Linked DNA regions of Homo sapiens: region 2 is linked to region 1. Evidence: promoter capture Hi-C in 16 types of primary human blood cells and fetal thymus (Javierre and others, 2016). All regions are on one chromosome and are shown on one strand. Each heading gives the region's core, a stretch centred on a gene start or on the middle of the fragment in contact. The rest is flanking DNA. Distances are from core to core; before and after follow the strand shown.

Region 1 (7,072 bases), core at 4,573-7,072:
ACAGGCGTGAGCCACCGCGCCCGGCCCCCTCCTTACTATTTCTTAAACACCCCTGACATACTCCCACCCCAGGCCCTTTTTGCTGGCTATTCTCTCTTCCCTCAAATATATGGCTCCTCCCTCACCTCTTTCAGGTCTCTGCTCACCAGAATGAGACCATCCCTGACCTCTACAACTCCCAACCTTCCCCAGCCCTTCCACAAATGTTCTCCTTAGTGCTAATCACTGTCTAACTTACTGCATTCTTCACATCTCCATGTGTTTGTTGTGTCCTTCCTCACCCCCACCCTGACCCTGACACCAGCTCCGTGGGGTCGGGTTTTTTGTCATCTTCATTTATTGATTTATTAATATTTCCAGTGTCCAGGGATTTGCCTGGTACACAGAAATTAATAAATATCTGTTGAATAAATGAATCAATGTCTACTTAATGAAGGAAGAAATGAAATCCATGATATACACATCTGTGTTTTCAAAACTCTGGTGTTGAATAGTCTTTAATGAGTTGCCAAAGAGGCAGGCCAACTTTAATTTTAAGAAGGCAAAAAGAAAATGAAGTTGAAAACATTTAGTAGTTCAGAAAACATCACAGTATGTGATGTATTCACAGTATTTATGTATTGATCTGGGTGCTAGTTATGCAAGTGTATACATATATAAAAACAAATTGGCCGGACGTGGCGGCTCATGCCTGTAATCCCAGCACTTTGGGAGGCCGAGGTGGGAGGATCACGAGGTCAGGAGTTCAAGACCAGCCTGGCCAGCATGGTGAAACTCCATGTCTACTAAAAATACAAAAATTAGCTGTGCGTGGTGGTGCACGTCTGTAATCCCAGCTGCTTGGGAGGCTGAGGCAGGAGAATCGCTTGAACCCAGAAGGCAGAGGTTGCAGTGAGCTGAGATCACACCACTGCAGTCCAGCCTAGGCGACAGAGCAAGATTCCGCCAAAAAAAAAAAAAAAAAAAAGAACTGGACATGGAAATCAGTACCCTTTGGCTGGGCGTGGTGGCTCACGCCTGTAATCCCAGCACTTTGGGAGGCTGAGGCAGGCGGATCACAAGGTCAGGAGATCAAGACCATCCTGGCTAACACGGTGAAACCCTGTCTCTACTAAAAAAAAAAAAAAATTAGCCAGGCGTGGTGGCGGGTGCCTGTAGTCCCAGCTACTCGGGAGGCTGAGGCAGGAGAATGGCGTGAACCTGGGAGGCGGAGCTTGCAGTGAGCCGAGATTGCACCACTGCACTCCAGCCTGAGCGACAGAGCGAGACTCTGTCTCAAAAAAAAAAAAAAAAAAGAAAATCAGTACCCTTTACATACTTTTATGTATGTATGTTATACACAATAAAAAAGAAAATACAAAACGAAAACAAAATCCAAATAGTACGTGGGAAAAAAGTTAGACCCTTGACTTTCTTAGCTTTTATTTCAAGTTTTTTGTTTTTGTTTTGTTTTGTTTTGTTTTTTGAGACGGAGTCTTGCTCTGTCACCCAGGCTGGTGTGCAATGGTGCAGTCTCAGCTTACTGTAGCCCCTGCCTCCCAGGCTCAAGTGATTCTCCTGCCTCAGCCTCCTGAGTAGCTGGGACCACAAATGCACACCACCATGTCCTGTTAATTTTTGTATTTTTGGTAGAGACGGGGATTTGCCATGTTGCCCAGGCTCGTCTTGAACTTTTGAGCTCAAGTGATCCTTCTACCTCGGCCTCCCAAAGTTCTGGGATTACAGGCATGAGCCACTGAGCCTGACCCAAGATTCATCTTTCTATTTCCAGTGCTTAGCACAGATACTGCAATTAATGTGTTATGAACAAATGAATGAATGAATGAATGAATGAATATGTTCTGTGAGCTTCTGAGATGTGGTAGCCCATATCTGAAGTGGACTCCAAGGGTTTCTTATACTCCAGACCCTGCCCCTCCCTACCCCCGGCCCACTGGCCCTAGCCCCTACCCCAGCAGCTCGGGATGCTGTTCCAGACTTCGAGCCCCCTGCAGTCTGAGGAGAGATCACAGAAGAGCCTCCAGTGGGGCTGGGGGCCAAGGAAAGAAGTGGGGGCAATTTGGCTCCCAGGGGGGCATTAGGAATGGCTCCCCATCCCCTACATACCACCCACATCTATCCAATGCTCAAAGAACCTTCCCCAGGGGCTGGAAAGCCATATCACCCAGAGAGAGAAGGTCCGAGGGACTGACTCTGGGGAGGATAGCAGCTCAGACCCCTGCCGGAGAGTGGATGGAGCTAGAAGAGGGTGAAATCAGGAGGGGGAATGGCCAGAGGGGACAGAGGCTAGGGGGCCAGGACTTGGGGGTCCACTTACCAGGCAGCTGCTGTGTGTGGTTGAGTTCCTTCTCGTACCTGGGCTGAGTATAGGACCAGATTCGTACCTCACTCCCTAGGGCAGCCTCGAAGCAGTCATATACCACAGAGCCCTGTGAGGAGAGGGGTGAGGAAGGCTGGCGGTGCAGGGCTCAGAATCCAGGCCAAGGGCTGTGGGATCATCTGCAGGGACCACTCTGCTCACTGCCCTCCTCCCCCAACTAATGACTGTATTTATACTGTATAGCCTGAAATCTACTATTCACCTTTCTTTCAAGGGGCCTCAATTCTAAAGCAAATGTCCTCAGTAAGAGTGTCACCAGGGCGGGAAAAGGCCCTAGACATTTAAATCCCTGCACCCACCCTGCTGTGCTAGATCACCTGGCCAAAGCTAAGGAGATGAGACACCCCAACACAATATGGCACACCCCTCCCCACAGAAGTGGTTCTCACACTCAACCCAGTGCCTCAGTGTTCCTTACAACTGCTTGTGACATGGACCAAGCAGATGTTCTCCCAGTCTACAATTCTCCAGATAGGATATTGGCTGGGGGCTGGAGGTTGGAGGGAAAGTCAAAGGGTTTGAGTGATTTGACCCCAGTGGAAATAGACCTTCCAGGTACATGTGGCCTCCTAAGGCAGGGAGAAGCCCCAACACCCTGCACCATGGTACTTACACCATGGTAAGTATACCATGGTATGTATGGTAGGACTCTTTCTTTGGTCCAAGAGTACAGAGAAGTGCATCCAGCCCACAGACCTCCCCTCTCCAAGCCTCATTTTATCTATCTGGAAAATGAGGATACTAATAATGCCTCATCAGGTAGTTTTGAGGATTACAAAAGAATTAAATTTATTGAAATTATTCAGTGCCAGGCATTACATCCAGTGTTTTACAGGTACCAACTTAATTTAATTCTCACAACAGTCATGTGAGGTGGGACTATTCTTTTTTTTTGAGACGGAATCTCGCTCTGTCGCCCAGGCTGGAGTGCAGTGGCGCGATCTCGGCTCACTGCAAGCTCCACCTCCCGGGTTCACGCCATTCTCCTGCCTCTGCCTCCCGAGTAGCTGGGTCTACAGGCGCCCACCACCATGCCTGGCTAATTTTTTGTATTTTTTTAGTGGAGGCAGGGTTTCACAGTGTTAGCCAGGATGGTCTCAATCTCCTGACTTCGTGATCTGCCCGCCTCAGCCTCCCAAAGTGCTGGGATTACAGGTGTGAACCACTGTGCCCGGCCAGAACTATTGTTTTTTTATGTGGCAAAAACAAAAACAAAAACAAAAACAAAAAAACTTTAAGAGATATTTCACAAGGAAGTTACACAAATAGCCAATAAGCATGTGAAAAAAGTGCTCAACTTCATCAGTCATTGGAAGATACAAATTAAAACCACAATGGCAAACCACTACATATGCAGAAAAATTATGACAATTACAACACTTATGCTTGTTTTGGCACCACATATACTACAACTGGAACAATACAGAAAAGATTAGCAAGGCCCGTGCCTGAGGATGACATGCAAATTCATGGAGGGTCCCATATATTTAAAATTCAAATATATTTAATTTAAAAATAAAATAAAATTACACCATCAAGTGTTGGCAAAGATGGGAAGCAACTAGGACTCCCATACACTGCTGGTAGGAGGGGAAAATAGTAGAAGCACCCTGAAAAACGCTTGGTGATTTCTCGCAGTCAAGCATATGAAGTAGAACTATTCTCATCCCCATTTTACAGACATAAAAGCTGAGGCATAACAGGCTGAAGGGACTTGCCCACAGCGCTGATCAGAATCAAAAGAATAGTCCCACCTCACATGGCTGTTGTGAGAATTAAATAAGTTGATACCTGTAAAACACTGGCTGTAATGCCTGGTACTGAAGGGTTTCAATAAATTTAATTCTTTTGTAATCCTCAAAGAGATAATGCATGTGAAAAAGTTTTATAGATTTTAGGTTTAGAAGGTGATTATTATTATTTTGCATACCACAGACTGACCAAACTGCACAAGGGCAGCAGGCACTTGCACCTCCAGCAGGACGCAGCGGGCAGTAGGGTAGGCCTGGAAGGAGAGCACGACTTGGGCCTGGAGAGAGGCTGTGGGCAACAGGGCAGGGGTCAGTCAGGCCCAGGAGCGGCAGGCCAGGCCTTGGCATGGGGCAGTTGGGCCAGCCAGGTTCTCCTCACCATTCCTAGGCTCCTCCACCCCTGAGTCAGCTGCTCCTCCAAACTTTTCCTCATCTTCAGGCTCTTCCCAGTGCCCTAGAAGGACCCAAGAGCAAGGCCCTGGGTGAGGCCCCCTGCTCTGGGCTGGCTGGCTTTGGCGTTGGCTTCCTTCTGGAAAGCCCAGTGCTGGGAAGCAGGGGCTGGGGAGACCACACTGGCCTGGGGGTCCTTCTGCTGGTGTCCTCCAGGAGAACACTGAGGATGCCTAGCACTGCTTGAGAGATCCCCTGGCCCTCATGCCCACCCCAGACACACTCACGTGTACACATGCACTGTCACAGGATGACTTGCTCACCATGCACGGCCAAGTGGACAGCCACACGCAGACAGAGGTCACAGTCGGTCTCCTTCTGGCACCTCAGCACCAGCTCTGTCTGCAGGTGCGTAGGCGCCAGCACGGGGCCCGGAGCAGGCACGATGTCCCCAGGCAGGCAGAGTATGTCACTGTCTGTGTGTGGAGGAGCGGGTGGGAGCTGAAGCTGTTCCAAGCCCAGAATTTGGTGGCACCTGACATACCCAGAGAGCCAAAGAACTTGGCTGTCCTAGGCTGAGGTGGGCATGGAGGGCATGGGCCTGGGACAGCTCTGCTCCCTTCGGCCAACCTGGGAAATTCTTTTTAAAAGTAGGGATACTTACCCCAGAGGCGGCAGGAGAGGCCCTGGGAAGGAAAGAAAGGAGAGTCAGAATTTGTGCCCCCACCATCTAGGCACTGTTCTCTGCCTAAGACCTCCACCTACCTTTTTCTGGGGCTCCGTATTCCCAGACCCTCCCAGAGAAAGACAGACCCAGCTCTTGCCCCTTCCCCGTTCTTCTCTTCTACCATCAGCACCAGACAGACCAGACAGGGCAGTTCTGGCAGTGGCAGCAGTGACAGGAGCCAGGCTAAGGCTTTGCTGAGCCAAAAACTGAACCCTGAGCCTTTCCTCGTCTCCCCAGGGTTCCAGACTCACCGGAGAGCAGTGGGTAGCGTCCTGAGGCCCCACAAGCCTCTCCAGAGAAAGGACCACTGGGCTTCGGCCCAGTGCCAAGGACAGCAAGAACCAGGGCACAGGCATCTTCTAGGTGCCAGGTGGCACCCAGGCCTGAGGCCCTGTGCTGCCCCCCCCCAAGGGGGGCAGACACCCCAGTCAGCCCGTGTCTGTGGGTGGCAGGGGCTGGAATCCCTCTTCAGCCTCCAGAGGGGGCGGAGGGGGCTGTGCTGGGTAGTTTGTGCACTCTCTGTCCTGGGAGTCCTGACTCTCCTCCTACTTCCAGCACGGAGTGCTTTCGTTTTGGCTCCCGGCAGGCTGCTGGCTGTTCCCGCCCCTCTCTGTCCCTCCCACCAACACCAGGCTTGGGAGCCAGCAGCCTTGGACTAGGGTGGTGGCCGCACCTCCTCCTTCTTTGGCTCTCCTCTCCCTCTGCTGACACCTGGCTGGGAGGGGCCCCTGAAGAAGACAGCGAATGCATCACGGCTGAGTAAGGGAGCTCTTACTCACCCCCGGAGCCCTAAGGAGGACACAGCCCTGGAGTCCTGGGCCCACTAAGTCTCCCCTTACTAGGCACACTCGGTCCCTTCAGACACTCTTTGGGCCTCGGTAACCCTTTGTGGGACAGGAGCTCTAAAAGCACGGACAAAAGGCACCAGAAAGTGGGCTTTTCACCACTGCCTGGCTCAAATGCGGTATGGGGAGTAGAAGGAACCCAGGACCCCAGAGCCTGGCAGACAGGGGTCCCATCTGTGCTGTTGCTGTGGGCCGGCTGTGTGATGATGGACACACCATCTGGCGAAGCCTCTGTTTTCCTCTCCTCTTGTAAGAATCACTGGGGGGGATCAAGGAGATTGCCCCATCCTCCTTTGCTTTTGGAGGCATTGCTTGTAAGAATGTGACGGATGCCATGCGGTATGGACACAGAGGATTTGGGCCAGCACACTGACACATACCCCACCAGGCAGGCTCCCCAGCCACACTAGAGAAGCACACTGTGTTTTCTTAGTTTGTCATGTTTGTCTTTATTCATCTTTCCGGATCTTGGTCCCCACCGCCAGCACCCACCCACCCCACCCCCAACCCCCACTGTCCTGACCACCTGGAGCCAAAAGCCTCTTTTCCTAGGTCCAGAGTCCTCTCTCCCTCTGGCCAGAGCCTCAGAGTGGGAAAGGGAATCCCTGGCCCCCAAGGAGGTTTTCTCTCAGCCGCCCCCTGCAATCCCCCACCGCCTCACCCTCCTTCAGAACTGACATGGCTCCTGCCTCCCTACCCCGGCCCCAACCTCTCCAGCCTGGACTGAAGCATAAGCACACTGCTCTTTCTGGAGTTCTGGAGAGGAAGTGGGAAGACCGCCCTCCCCCATCAGAACAGGGGTTAGAGGAGCTCTCAGTCAAGGGAAAGTATGAGGAGGAAGAGGGACGCGCGCGGGGACTGGGCTGGGACTTCCGGCCTGTGAGGCAGGGAATGCGGCTTTTCGGCCAGTCGTCCTCGAGGCACCCCAAGGATTTCAGGGTCGAAGGCTCATTCCGGGGTTCCAGCCAGTGTCCGTTGC
Region 2 (7,072 bases), core at 2,931-5,430, 120 kb before region 1:
GCTGAGGCAGGAGAATCACTTGAACCCAGGAGGCAGAGGTTGCAGTGAGCCAAGATCGCACCACTGTACTCTAGCCTGGGCAACAGAGTGAGATTCCGTCTCAAAATAAGTAAACCTTTAAACTTACTATTACTGTATCAGGACTCTGAAAAAATTAAAAAGGAGAACATAAAAATGACTATAATCCTGTCATTCCAGAAAGGTACACTATTAATATACATATGTGTATGTGTGTATCTTCTTTTTTAAACAAAATACTGAACTACTTATTGCAAAAACTGCAATTACTTTTGCACCAACCTAATATAAGTGCTATGTGTAACCTGGGTTTGTTTTTTTCAATTAATGTATGATATTAACTAATTCTTTTTACAATTATTAATGTGCACATAATATTTCTATTTTTTGAACATCTCAATTATTTACATTTCTTTATTTTAAAGAGTAATCTTTTTCAATATACGGAACACTTCACAAATTTGGGTATCACCCTTGCAAAAGGGCCATGCTAATCTCTGTATTGTTCCAATTTTAGTATACGTGCTGCCAAAGCAAGCACTAAACTAATATTATTTCATTTTCATTCACAGTTATTATCTTAGGATAAATGAGGAGACATGACATTAGGATTAAAGGGTATGCAAAATCTAAGGTTTTTGACACATACAATCTATTGCTCTTCCGAATCGATGCCTGAACTAATTTATATGCTCACTAGCAACGTACAAGCATGCCTATTCACTACACTCAACAAGGAGACCCTTTGAGAGTAGGAAAAAATGCATTTATTTTACTGTGTAATAGTTATTATTTACTATTTTGATACAGTGTTTTAAATTTGTGCCTTTGATTGCTAACAAAATTGAACTTTTTAAATATTTGATGTTCTTGTATTTCTTCTTTGTAAACTGTCTGTTCATGACCTTTGTCTACTTTTCTATTAGGCTGTTCATTTCTTAACATAGTAATTAAAAAAAAACAGGTAGGGCCACATCCCAGTAGTTTGAGAGGCTAAGGCAGGTGGACCACTTGAGCCTGGAAGTTTTGAGACTAGCCTGGGCAACATGGCGAAACCCCACCTCTACCAAAAAAAAAAAAACCACGAAAATTAGCTGGACCGGGTGGCGCACACCTGTAGTCCCAGGCACTCATGATGCTGAGGTGTGAGGATCACTTAAGCCTGGGAGGTGGAGGCCTCAGTGAGCCATGATCGTACTACGGCACTCCAGCCTGGGCAACAGAGTGAGACCCTGTCTGAACATACACTACAAAATTTAAAAGGTAAAGAAAAGTATTCAGAAAATACCTGATTCCAACCAACTGGCTACCCTCTTTGGAGACAACTACCATTACCAGTATATTGTGTATCCTTCTACTAGGGATTATCCCTGAGCATAAGCAACAGATACTTAAAAAAAAAAAAAAAATTCTGTTTTGAAATACAGACAAGGTCTCACTACATTGCCCAGGCTGGTCTTGAATTCCTGAACTCAAGCAATCCTCCTCCCTCAGCTTCCCAAACTGTTGGGATTACAGGTGTGAGCCACTGCACCAGGCCAATAGTTACTTTTAACAGTAATCCTATCTATTTTTACAAAGTCATATTAATAGATGAAACTTCAAAGACACTCCAGTAAAATTTTAGTAGTCACTTAAGAAATATAATGATAAATATGACTTTCAGAGAAACCAATAGTTTTCAGAGTAACCTTTTCAGAGAGAACTTAAGTACATCAGGGTACTTTGAACATTCCATAATAACGCCACTTACTTTTCAAAAAAATATTCTGGCAACTTCTCAAATAAGGTTTTGATAATGGCAGGCTAAAAAAGAAGACATAGGGAGTTAGGAGATGATCTCAAAATACACAATAGAAATGTATAATCCCAGCTACTTGGGAGGCTGAGGCACGAGAACCTCTTGGACCTGGGGAAGGCAGAGATTGCAGTGAGCCGAGATTGCACCACTCCACTCCAGCCTGGGTGACAAAGGAGACTCTGACTCAAAAAAAAAAAAAAAAAAAGAAATGTATAATTCTCTTTCCAACTAGAGCTCCTGGAATAAACACTTTGCTAAAGTTGATATCTTATTACAAGGATATCCACACGAATATGTCTTCATTTTTAGAATATGCTATTGGAATACAAAGACTTAATTTGTCTTCTGAAAAACTGAAAATGATTATCAAGGCAACGTTAAAATAATCAGATAATTAAAATATTATTAAATACAATAACTGTTAATCCACAAAATGCAAACTTTAAAAGATTATCAAATAACTTGCAAGGGGAGCTCTCAGGAGGAACAAGGGAGCTCTTAGACTTAAAATAACTAAATTATCTTCAAGATTTCCAGTGAAAAGGAAGAGTTTAAGAGTGTGAAAAGATTAACAGTAGGGGAGAAGAGGAAAAATGGAGAATGGGGTGGAGGGAAGTTTTCTGCTCTATATACATTTGTATAACTTGAGATATTTAAATCATATCAATGTATTGTCTACTTAATAAAAGAGACGAGGAGGAGGAAAAGGACAAAATTAAGTTACATAAGCATCTAAAAAGCTAAATGGGAGATAATGTAGATATGAATATGATAAAGATTACCAGATACTCAGAGATACACAGGATGCAGCTTTAAGAACAGGAATCAGATGCAGAGAGAATAAATGGGGCCGCCAGATGTATTAGGCTAATAAGCACAGTTTTAAAACACAGACATTACCCTACCAAACCCATCACAGCAACAGGGCTGTGCTAAAGCTGCTACAAACCCAAATTCTCCAATTAACCCTACTCTATCCTGTGTTCCCGCTATTTAGACTTGAGCATACACCACAAACCTCTTCCATCAAATGTTCACAGAAAAAGTGACAGTCTTACCTGCAGTATGTCAATCCCCAGAAGCAGTTTGATGAGACTCTTAGAATAAGATGCACCCATACTGTAAAAAAAAAAGAAATCTGTTTTCCACTTTGCTTTCCTTGTTTTAATGCTTTTATCATCTTTTCTCAATAAAATTGGTTAAATACATAATATTTAAAGAGGAACTACCCTGTTAGACAAGAAATACAGAAATGAGCAGATGGCTCTTTGCAAGGGAGAGGTAGAGATTTGAAATTCTGTCAGCATAGGTAAAACACTGATTGTTAGGCTCATAACCACAAGCTTAGGAATTTTAAACTTAGTTTAAACTCTGAGGAAAACAGAGCTTACACCAAAAATGAAATTTGAAACAACTGTGCTCTCCCTCCCCAGCCCCATGAAGTTGGCAAAACAGACTGAATTTCAGCAAGATTCCATGCCTCCTCTCCACACCTGGCTTCCTCATCCTGCAGACGCTCACAAGACAAAAGGCAGTTCCTGAAACTGTCTTCATCCTCAATGTAAGACTCCAGGCCACTAACAAATTCTTCTATTATCTTAAGGAGATTTAAAAAATAAAAAAGAATAAAATTTTTAGTTTAATATTTGCTGTTAAAAATCATTCTAGCCCACTCAACTTTATACCAGTGTCCTTAAATTCCAAATTCTAGAGTTATGCTGGCACAAGCAAAAATACCAGGGGAAAAATACATACTTTGGGATAGGAAGGGTGTCTCCTCAGGGTCTGAAAGAGCTTCTTTTGGAAAGCTATTTGATCCACAGCTATGCAGAAAAAAGAAGAGCTGGTCACCAGTTTCCTACCATAGTTTTCCTTCTCTAAAAACCCAAGTTTCTTGCCTGATGAAACCAATAAAAATATTTTCAACCTAATTTCAGAGACAAATCTTTTTTTTTTTTTTTTTTTTTGAGATGGAGTTTTGTTCTGTTGCCTAGGCTGGAGTGCAGTGGCGTGATCTCAGCTCACAGGAACTTCCGCCTCCTGGGTTCAAATGATTCTCCTGCCTCAGCCCCCCCAAGTAGCTGGGACTACAGACACGTTTTTTTTTGTTTTGTTTCGTTTTTTGTATTTTTAGTAGAGACAGGGTTTCACTGTGTTAGCCAGGATGGTCTCGATTTCCTGACCTCGTGATCCACCCTCCTCAGCCTCCCAAGTGCTGGGATTACAGGCATAAGCCACTGTGCCCAGCCCAGAGTCATGGGGTTGTGTCTAAACCCACATAAAAGACTTAGCTTTGGCTGGGCGCGGTGGCTCATGCCTGTAATCCCAGCACTTTGGGAGGCCGAGGCAGGTGGATCACAAGGTCAGGAGATCAAGACCATCCTGGCTAACACGGTGAAACTCCGTCTCTACTAAAAATACAAAAAATTAGTCAGGCATGGTGGCGGGCGCCTGTAGTCCCAGCTACTTGGGAAGCTGAGGCAGAATGGTGTGAACCTGGGAGGTGGAGCTTGCAGTGAGCAGAGATCGCGCCACTGCACTCCAGCCTGGGCGACAGAGCAAGACTCCGTCTCAAAAAAAAAAAAAAAAAAAAGACTTAGCTTTGATAGCAGATAGCCACTAAGTGTTCTAAAAAAGACCTGCCATAACCTTAGCAAGATAGAATAATCTGCTCCCCCAAAACAGAATCTTATATGGCTTTATAAATTTTCTTCTGAAATTATTCTGACACTGATACAGCTGCTTTCTGGATATTTATTTTTTCATAAGAAAACACAAAATAAATAATATATAATATTTTTTCTAATAAAAGGATGAGAAATGCTTTACTTAAGACATAGTAATGAGGACCAAAGACTGTACCATTTTCTTTTTCCATTTTTGTTTTTTGGAAATGGAGTCTCACTCTTGTCGCCCAGGCTGGAGTGCAGTGGTGCGATCTTGACTCACTGCAACTTTCACCTCCCGGGTTCAAGCAATTCTCCTGACTCAGGCGCCCAAGCAGCTGGGACTACAGGCACATGCCACCATGCCCGGCTAATTTTTTATATTTTAGTAGAGACGTGTTGCCCAGGCCGGTCGCAAATTCCTGAGCTCAGGCAATCCGCCTGCCTCGAGCCTCCCAAAGTGCTGGGATGATAAACGTGAGCCACCGCGCCCGGCCTGACTGTACCATTTTCTAAAAAGCAATTTCAACTTTGTCTCAAGATGGATGGCCCTCTGATTTCTAATCTTCATTGCCTCTCTATTTAGAAAACCCATGATTCAGTCCTGAACTATTTCATTAAACCCAGAGAATAAAATTAGATTAAAATATTACCTAGTTGATTCTGACTCTCTCCCGTTTTAAGAATAATTCCTGATATCTTAAGAAGCTTTACAAAGATGCTGTCATTTTCTTCAACTTCATTAGCAATATGAGATTTCTTTGTCTTTTTGGAAAGTGGTTGCTTCCTGGTTTCTGAAAATAGAAAAATTTTCAAGAATATGGCAAATAGTAAAGGAAAAATTAAAACTTAAACCCAGGAATAATAATCATGAGAGGAAAACTGATGTGTCCTTAAAAATTATACTAGGATTGATGCTGTAGTGAAATAAACTGTCTTCAGCAATAGTGGCTTCCAAAACAAACAAATAGAATTATTTTCACCTATTTTCATTTGAAGAATTCAAAATGTGCCATTTCTGGCCAGGCAAGGTGGCTCATGTGGTAATCCCAGCAAATTAGGAGGCCAAGGCAGGAGGATCACTTGAAGCCAGGAGTTCAAGACCAGCCTGGGCAACAAAGTGAGACCACCCCCCCATCTCCCCCCCTTCACCCCCATTCCCCCCCTCCACACACAAACTAGTTAGGTGAGGAGACGCACACCTGTAGTCCCAGCTACTTCGGAGGCTAAGGCGGAAGAATAACTTGAGCCCAGGAGGTTGAGGCTATAGTGAGCTATGATATTACCACTGCACTCCAGCCTGGGTGACAGAGTGAAATCCCCATCTCTAAAAAAATAAATTCAAACAAATAAGTGCCTAACAAGAATAACCCACAGAAATGTTTTCCACCCAAATACTAAACTAGCCAGTGTCTCTCAAGCTGTTGCCTGCAAACCACTGTACTGGAATCCCTGGGAAGCTTATTAAAATGCATATTTCCGACCCAGCACAGTGGCTCACGCCTGTAATCCCAGCACTTTGGGAGGCCGAGGCAGGCTGATTACCTGAGGTCAGGAGTTCAAGACCAGCCTGGCTAACGTGGTGAAACCCCATCTCTACTAAAAATACAAAATTAACTGGGTGTGGTGGCGTGCGCCTGTAATACCAACTACTCGGGAGGCTGAGGAGGAGAATCACTTGAACCCGGGAGGCAGAGGTTGCAGTGAGCCCAGATCGCGCCACTTCACTCCTGCCTGAGCAACAGAGTGACACTCTGTCTCAAAGGAAAAAAAAGGCATATTCCATGCCATATACCAGAGTTACTGAGTCAAAATCTTGGGAATGGGACCTAGGAATCCGAATTTTTTATGTTCTTCAGATAATAATCCTGATACACACCAAATTTGAGACTCAATGATCTGAATAAAGGGTAGACAGAATGGGGAAGGTTCTTTGTATCATATCTTTGACTACAATGCTCAGATAGGTTTAATCCCAAGACTTTCAACCCATAAAAAGAAATAAGAAACAAGAAACAAACAGGTACTTGAAGCCAAGTTTAAAATTTACTCTTCTCCCTTAATGATGCCATTTTGTTTTTTCCTTCTTCAATTCCTCTCCCTCTTTCTTTTTTTTTTTTTTTTGAAATGGAGTCTTGCTCTGTCGCCCAGGCTGGAGTGCAGTGGCGCGATCTTGGCTCACTGCAAGCTCCGCCTCCCGGGTTCATGCCATTCTCCTGCCTCAGCCTCCCAGTAGCTGGGACTACAGGTGCACACCACCACGCCCGGCTAATTTTTTGTATTTTTAGTAGAGACGGGGTTTCACCATGTTAGCCAAGATGGTCTCAATCTCCTGACCTCGTGATCTGCCCGCCTTGGCCACCCAAAGTGCTGGGATTACAGGCGTGAGCCACCGTGCCTGGCCTCCTTTCCCTCTTTCTAATAAAGCCTTAATCAGAATGAGACAAAGACCACTACCTTCCTGAATGAAATGTAAAACACAACCAGAATGAAAGTTTCAGTTTGTTCATTACTGACCAAGAGAACCCAAATCCCTTCTAATAAACTTAATTCAGAAGTCTCTTCTCTTTTGGAGAACAGTATTTCC

The links. Contacts are between HindIII fragments. The CHiCAGO score rates a contact against its expected background, and 5 or more counts as called.
Region 2: a fragment that was not itself captured here is called in contact with the fragment with the promoter of IL17RC in region 1 in 2 of 17 cell types (naive CD4 T cells and naive B cells); the score reaches 5.5 in naive CD4 T cells.

Annotation. Positions count from the first base shown.
Region 1 is chr3:9,915,848-9,922,919 of GRCh38, reverse strand. IL17RC (interleukin 17 receptor C) reads right to left here and starts at 5,822. Exons shown (of 19, transcript NM_153460.4): 1 at 5,500-5,822; 2 at 5,186-5,207; 3 at 4,845-4,997; 4 at 4,511-4,585; 5 at 4,311-4,420; 6 at 2,318-2,429; 7 at 1,951-1,995. The coding sequence starts at 5,604. IL17RE (interleukin 17 receptor E) reads right to left here. Exons shown (of 16, transcript NM_153480.2): 16 at 6,523-7,072. It also overlaps the pseudogene RNU6-882P. RefSeq lists enhancers at 5,911-6,100, 6,030-6,569. The HindIII fragment of the contact is 19,830 bases long and covers 1-7,072 here.
Region 2 is chr3:10,031,039-10,038,110 of GRCh38, reverse strand. It overlaps FANCD2 (FA complementation group D2), which reads right to left. Exons shown (of 44, transcript NM_001018115.3): 3 at 5,139-5,279; 4 at 3,575-3,642; 5 at 3,313-3,416; 6 at 2,878-2,938; 7 at 1,772-1,824. It also overlaps the pseudogene RNU6-670P. Among named protein-coding and RNA genes, the nearest start is that of FANCD2, 8.1 kb to the right of the region's middle. The HindIII fragment of the contact is 2,031 bases long and covers 3,165-5,195 here.